Regions from separate parts of the Homo sapiens genome. Here region 2 is linked to region 1. Evidence: promoter capture Hi-C in 16 types of primary human blood cells and fetal thymus (Javierre and others, 2016). All regions are on one chromosome and are shown on one strand. The core of a region is centred on a gene start or on the middle of the fragment in contact, and the rest is flanking DNA. Distances in the headings are between cores, read along the strand shown.

What was found. The method cuts DNA at HindIII sites, captures the fragments that hold promoters and counts their contacts. A CHiCAGO score of 5 or more calls a contact.
Region 2: the fragment with the promoter of MDP1 here is called in contact with a fragment that was not itself captured in region 1 in 1 of 17 cell types (non-activated CD4 T cells); the score reaches 6.5 in non-activated CD4 T cells.

What each region holds. Positions count from the first base shown.
Region 1 is chr14:21,260,773-21,264,155 of GRCh38, forward strand. HNRNPC (heterogeneous nuclear ribonucleoprotein C) reads right to left here. Exons shown (of 9, transcript NM_004500.4): 2 at 2,539-2,564. Among named protein-coding and RNA genes, the nearest start is that of HNRNPC, 7.0 kb to the right of the region's middle. The HindIII fragment of the contact is 6,125 bases long and covers 1-3,383 here.
Region 2 is chr14:24,214,280-24,217,662 of GRCh38, forward strand. It overlaps MDP1 (magnesium dependent phosphatase 1), which reads right to left and starts at 1,787. Exons shown (of 6, transcript NM_138476.4): 1 at 1,640-1,787; 2 at 1,458-1,518; 3 at 1,273-1,383; 4 at 213-320; 5 at 31-116. The coding sequence starts at 1,676. NEDD8-MDP1 (NEDD8-MDP1 readthrough) reads right to left here. Exons shown (of 7, transcript NM_001199823.3): 4 at 1,273-1,383; 5 at 213-320; 6 at 31-116. NEDD8 (NEDD8 ubiquitin like modifier) reads right to left here. Exons shown (of 4, transcript NM_006156.3): 4 at 2,578-2,944. The coding sequence ends at 2,848. RefSeq lists enhancers at 513-1,251, 1,664-1,833. The HindIII fragment of the contact is 6,893 bases long and covers 1-3,383 here.

The DNA.
Region 1 (3,383 bases), core at 285-2,784:
GCCAACATGGTGAAACCTCGTCACTACTAAAAATACAGAAATTAGCCGTGCATGGTGGTCCGTGCCTGTAGTCTCAGCTACTCGGGAGGCTGAGGCAGGAGAATCGCTTGAACCCGGGAGGTGGAGGTTGCAGTGACCCAAGATGGCACCACTGCACTCCAGCCTGGGAAACAGAGCGAGACTGTCTCAAAAAAAAAAAAAAAAAAAAAGATGGGGTCTCATTATGTTGCCCAGCCTGGAGTGCAGTGGATAATCACATCACACACTACAGTCTCTCAAATCCTGGGCCAAGGGACCCTCCTGCCTCAGCCTTCCAATTAGTTGTGACTACAGGCTTACAGGCAGGTACCAACGCCCCCAGCTTATTTTGGCATGCTTCTATAGGATATGTGTTTACCTCTCATCATATATGGACATTATTTCATTCATGTGTCTCCCTCACTAAGCTGCGAAGCCCTTAAACATAATAAACTATTTTTTATATCCCCAAACACAACATGTCCCATAAAAATAATAAATTTGTAGAATTAACAAGGAATAAATCAAACTGAACCTATAGTGAACAGCTTCCGTACACTGACAGCAGCAAAGAAGAAAAAATAGCTCTCATACAATAGAGAGCATCAATAAAACTTGCACTTATTTAAAAAATAAAGATTCCCATTCTTTTTCTAGATAACTTCCAGGAATCTTTTGCTTTTTCTCCCATTCTGTTTTGAGTGTACCTCTGGTGTTCACTTTAACTAGATTTCACTTTTCATCCGAGTATGGTATAAGGGGGCAAGTTTGTGATTTACCCTAGTACAACAGTACCGAATATGCCTTCAAAAAATTATTCCAGGTTAGGTGCAGTGGCTCATGCCTGTAATGTCAACACTTTGGGGGTGTCAAGGCAGGAGGATCGCTTGAGCCCAGGAGTTCAAGACCAGCCTAGACAACATAGCGAGACCCTGTCTCTACAAAAAATAGAAATATTTTAAAATAAAATCTAATTATCTCCCAGCTTGAAACCTATCAGAGCAACTCTAAAATGGTTATCAAAACATTTTGCTGCAGTGAGTAAAATACTACGGGTTGCTCAACTTCTCTTTGGCTATCCACATCTTTACTAATCTCTACACCATTCCTGTGAATAACACAGAATACACTCCTTCTTAACATCAGAACACATTAGAGTTCCTAATCTAGCATTAGAACTCTATGAATTCACATTAGAATTCCCAAAATCTAGCTGGGTCTTGAGTCACCACTGTAAAAGGGGTCAGCCTTAGACAGTTCCTAATTTGGATGTAGAGGTTAAACAGATTTCCCTGCTTTGTGAGGTCAAAAAGCCTACCTTTTTTCAAATTTTTAAAAGCCCTCCAGTGAGACAGCATTTTAATATTATGTTGTATCTCCTATGGTTTGACTCTTGTGAAATATTAATGAGATAAAAAGTCTAAATAGAATATAATCCAAAAATGTCACAAACCCAAGGAATATGTTAAATGACAGAAAATGTTTACTGATTTGTAACAATCTAAAAAAAGGGACTCCCCAATATGTTTTCTTGTTGCTAATCATTAAAACAAGCCACTTTCATTTTAAACTTCAGCTGCTCTTTCCAAGTATCCAAAATGTTCTAATCAGCCCAAGTTAATTAGCAACTCATATTATTCCATTAGTTTACAAATAACTGAGGTGGTCCCCCTTGGGAAACACCTCAAGATGCACACACAAAAGTTTCAAACACTTCCAGATGCTATGACCTATACACATCAGCTAAACTGTTAAACGGGTTTATTTCCTAGTCTTTGTAATGAATCCAAGTGGACCTCACACCTCTTACCATCACCCAGGAAGGGTGTGCATCTGTTCCGAAGGCCCCCCTGGCTCCAGGTCATCCTGGCTGCTGCTGCTCCAGGCTGGGCATCCATGTTGCTGCAGCTTGTGGTTTGTGAGGGGTAGTGTACAGGAAAAGCAGGATGGGATTTCAAGGGAAACAGGAGGAAGATGGCTTTCAGGGAAAATGCCATCACGATCATAAGTGTTAAGTAGTACCACACACATTTTATTGCAGCACAGTTTAAAAATTTAACAAATGAAAGATTAAAAATAAAAAAACAAAAATAAAAAAAATTAAAAATACAGACGTCCAGAGATGCTCTAAAACAGTTAAGTTAAAGATCAGGAAAAATAAGGTCATAGACTTAACAGCCAGTAAAATTCTTTTCAGTGTGGGGAAGGGGATGAGGGCAAGGGTGGGGTTGGGAGAGAAAAGGTTTACGTGATCAAACCACTTAAAAATACTAATGCCTTCGCTTTCTCTCCCAAGATGCAAAACTCCAAAGTCAATCAGGAGGCCGGAGAAATTCTTAGAAACATTCAGAAAAACTCGATTTTAATCCGGTTAAAAATCATCAGTGTCATTATCATCATCATCATCACCATCATAAGTATTAATATAATAATAATAAGTAATAGTAACTAGTAACAACAATAAAAAGGAAATCAGCGGAAAGTCAGGAAAAATGTTAAAAAAAAATTGGAATAACTTACTGTAGCTGAAGATCAAAAAAATCTCACTGTAAAAAAACAAAAATAAAAATAGCCCAGATTAGAAAAACGGGAGGTGCAAAAATGTCAAGTCAGTAAAGTTCATTTCTTTTCTCTTTCCAAAAGCAGTTTCCACAAAAACCGCAAGGATAAAGTTTTCAGTAGCAGACAAGCAAAGCCCTTTCCACATCATCAATCAATCTTAAAAATACACGAGGAAGTAGAGAGGTCAGTTTATGAGAGGCTAAAAGGCTCCTCCTCCTCTAACCCAACTGCTGCAGAAAAAATAGAAATAGAAATTTTAAAAATTACATCTTAAATCCAGGTCCCGGTTTTGGAAACAATTAAAAAAAAAACACCTGTACATTTGCTGTAGTGCACACCAAGTTGCATCATTATGTTTAAAATGTCTTTATAAAATCAGTTTTGGAATGGAATGTGTGTGTTCTGGAAGGGTGGGGAAGGGAGGTTAAAAATCAAAGCTGAGCTCCAGTGAGTAGGGATGGGGTTCGCCTTGCTGCCCTGTGAAAGGAGAAGGGACAGATTGAGTCAGAGTTCCTCAGAAATGTTGTGCCCTAAACCCCCAAGACAGAAACATCTGTCTACTGCAGCTAACACATTTTGGTAAAGCATTAACATTCCACTGGGATGGGATAGCCTCCATAGAATCACCTCTACCAGTGACTGTCTTCACAATTCTTCAACATCAATAGATGACTAAAATTAACTAAATTCATGTCAATATGCCCTTGAGGGTCTCAAAAAGAGTATATCCCAAATGTTCATCTTGATAATGAGCAGTTTGGGCAAAGAAAATACAGAAAAACCGGGCCAACAAATAGAGATGA
Region 2 (3,383 bases), core at 537-3,036, 3.0 Mb after region 1:
CCCAAATGGCTGTTCCTCATCACTCAGTACCCAGTTTGCTGACGTCTACAATATTCCGCCTCTCATCATCAAAGAAGATCATCTGGGAGAAAGGAATTCCAGTCTTCTGCTGCAACCTATTCAAGACAGGGCAGGAGTAACCAAGCTAGTATCTTGGTTTCCCAGGCCTCTCTGATACTTTCTCACCCTGCTCCTCCCTTATCTCCGCATACCTCTCAAAGTGTGTGATCTTGCTGCCTGGATAGATTTCCCGATGAACAAAGTACCTGAAGAGGTCAAAGAGCTCCAGTAGCTGGTTGGCCCCTTCTATCTCACTTGTCCTGCAAAACGGTGTAAAAGATGGGATTAGCAAAGTGAAGGGCCAGGGCTACGTTAACTTATTAAGCAAAGTTAGTAAGTATAACCAGGGAAATCAACTTGCTGTTTTTCCGGGATGGACAGGCATCCTCAGCCTCTGTTTAACTCCATTGCCTTCCTATTTGACACAATTGGTGCTGGGCCAATGTTTTAGCTTTTGTTTTGAGACAGGGTCTAGCTCTGTTGCCCAGACTGGAGTGCAGCGACCCAATCACGGCTCACTGTGGTCACGACCTCCTGGGCTCAAGTGATCCTCCCACCTCAGCCTCCCAAGTAGCTGGGACTACAGGTGCACGCCACTACAATTTTTTTTTTTTTTTTGGTAGAGATAGGGTCTCCCTCTATTGCCTAGGCTGGTCTCAAATTCCTGGGCTCAAGTGATCCTCCCACCTAGGCCTCCCAAAATGCTAAGATTACAGGTGTGAGTCACTGTGTCTGGCCCCACTTTTTTTTTTTTTTTTTTTTTTGAGACATTGTCTCACTCTGTCACCCAGGCTGAAGTGCAGTGGCTCCATCTCAGCTCACTGCAACCTCCGCCTCCCGGGTTCAAGCGATTCTCCTGCCTCAGCCTCCCGAGTAGCTAGGATTACAGGTGCGTGCCACCACGCCCTGCTAATTTTTGTATTTTTAGTAGAGACGGGGTTTCACCATGTTGATCAGGCTGGTCTTGAACTCCCGATCTCGTGATCCACCCGCCTCGGCCTCCCAAAGTGCTGGGATTACAGACGTGAGCCACCGCGCCCGCCTGCTGGCCCCACTTTTTAATAGTTAAAAGGCACAGGAGAGCGTTCAAGGGAAAAAATATGTAAATACTTGGAAACTTGCACCGCCCCTATTTTTGTAGACCAGGGGTTTCACTGTCTCTTGCATGCACCCTTCAGCATTACACTGTCAGTTGTCAGTCGCTCTTCTTACCTTGAAGCAGCCGCACCGGGCACCCCAAGGCTCTGCAATCGTTTTAGGACCTCAGGCACCTCTGGGTACAGTCGGACGTCTTGGCCCCGCCTATCTCGTACAGTTCCATCACTGGAGAGGGCAAGAGTGCGCTCAGCCCTGGCTGGGTCCTATCTCGCCCCCAGTCTTCCCTGTCCCTACCTCACCTGCTCTTATGGAACGGAGGGTCTACGTGCGTGTCGACCCAGAAAGGCCAGAGAGTGTAATCTGCGAGAGGAAGGAGAGGGAAGGTTCAGCCTGGGGCGGGAGATGCAGGGATTCGGGAGCTGCTGTTAGGGATGTGGAAAAGGAGAGCACCTTACGAAATTCTCCCCTTCCCGTCCCTCACCCAAATCAAAGACTGCCAGCTTCGGTAGCCGCGCCATGACCCGCACCGCAGGCTGCGCGCAGCAGAGGTGGGGCTTCACCCGGGGCCTTAGAGAGTGCGGAACCTCCGGCAGCTAAGGCAGCCACCCTGCCTGCCATAGACAAATGGCGACTAGAGCGTCGCCACTCGGGGCGTCATCAGCCTGGAGATGGCGCAAGAGTGCCATCTGATGCTGGGCGGGGAAGAGGATTGCAGCGAGGTACCAACACGACCACACATGCAACCACAGCAGTCAAGTCTTTCTAAGGCATTGGCCACGGGCATCCTCCCTACTTCTCCACTCCACCCAGCCTTGCCCGATTCTATTATACTAAGAAGCCAGGGAAGAAGGAAAGCCTTTTCTTCTAGCACCTGCCTCTTCTTGAGACCCAAGTGATACATCACAGCTTGTCACTCAATCTTTCTGCATTATCAACCTCCTGACAGTGTAGAACCCAAAGTCCTCAGTAATATTCCAGCCATAGAGTACAGTGTCAGCCAAACCCTTGAAGGCGTTCTCCAACCAGGCCTAAATGTCCAGTACAGCCACAGTCAAGAGAGAATTCACTCTCCGAAGGTTTCACCATCCATGTCAGCACTACACTGGTAGATGTATAACAACCAGTTTGTGGGGAGGAACTGATCTGTAGTGTTTGCTAGTTTCTGTAAATAATCCTACCATGGCCAATTTCAAGCTACCAACATGAAGTCACTTAATAGAGTTGGAAAAAGGTGCCAATAATTGGCTCTCATTAGCCACTAGGAACTGGTTCCAACACACCACTAAGTAGGTTTTCCTAGAGTCTGATAATCCCCGTAAGAGCACCATTCCTTCCACTGTCCGATTCCTTCAGCCTGCTATAACTGAGTGAGCATTAGGTCCATTTTTATTTCAGTCAACTTGTGCAACAGAAGAAAGATTCCAGGAGGCCAGGAAATATTTTATTGACAACCAGGGACACAGTCATAAGAGAGGGAAGCACACAGGACTGCAAACTAACACCCAGTAGCCAGCAAGGGCCCTCTGGGCCAGGAATACTGAATCCTGGGATCCTCACAGTCTCCCACCAGTAGACATACATTACTGGGCATCCAGGGGAGGGGGCAGTGGCTATGGTGTCCCAGAGAGTGAGAGGATATATGATGCCTCATTATGAGCGACAGGGTAAAGAGGTAAAATGGAGGGTCCATCACTGCCTAAGACCACCTCCTCCTCTCAGAGCCAACACCAGGTGAAGGACTGAACCACCTAAAATCTTGTAATCAGCTGCTGTCTTCTCATCATTCCTGCAGGAAAAGGAAGCCAGAAAAAAAAGAAAAAGAAGACTTAGGAGTTTTTTGTTGTTGTTGTTGTTGTTGTTGTTGTTGTTTTTGACAGAGTCTCGCTCTGTCATCTAGGCTGGAGTACAGTGGCACGATCTCAGCTCACTGCAACTTCCACCTCCTGGGTTCAAGCAATTCTCCTGCTTCAGCCTCCTGAGTAGCTGGGATTACAAGCGCCCACCACCACGCCCAGCTAATTTTTGTATTTTTAGTAAAGATGGGGTTTCACCATGTTGGCCAGGCTGGTCTCGAACTCCTGACCTCAGGTGATCCACCCCCTTCAGCCTCCCAAAGTGCTGGGATTACAGGCGTGAGCCACTGCGCCCGGCCAGAACAGGAGTTCTTGAGTTTCCTGGATCTCTTTGGGGGTCTGTGAACTTGAATGAGAAAAAAAATCCCATCT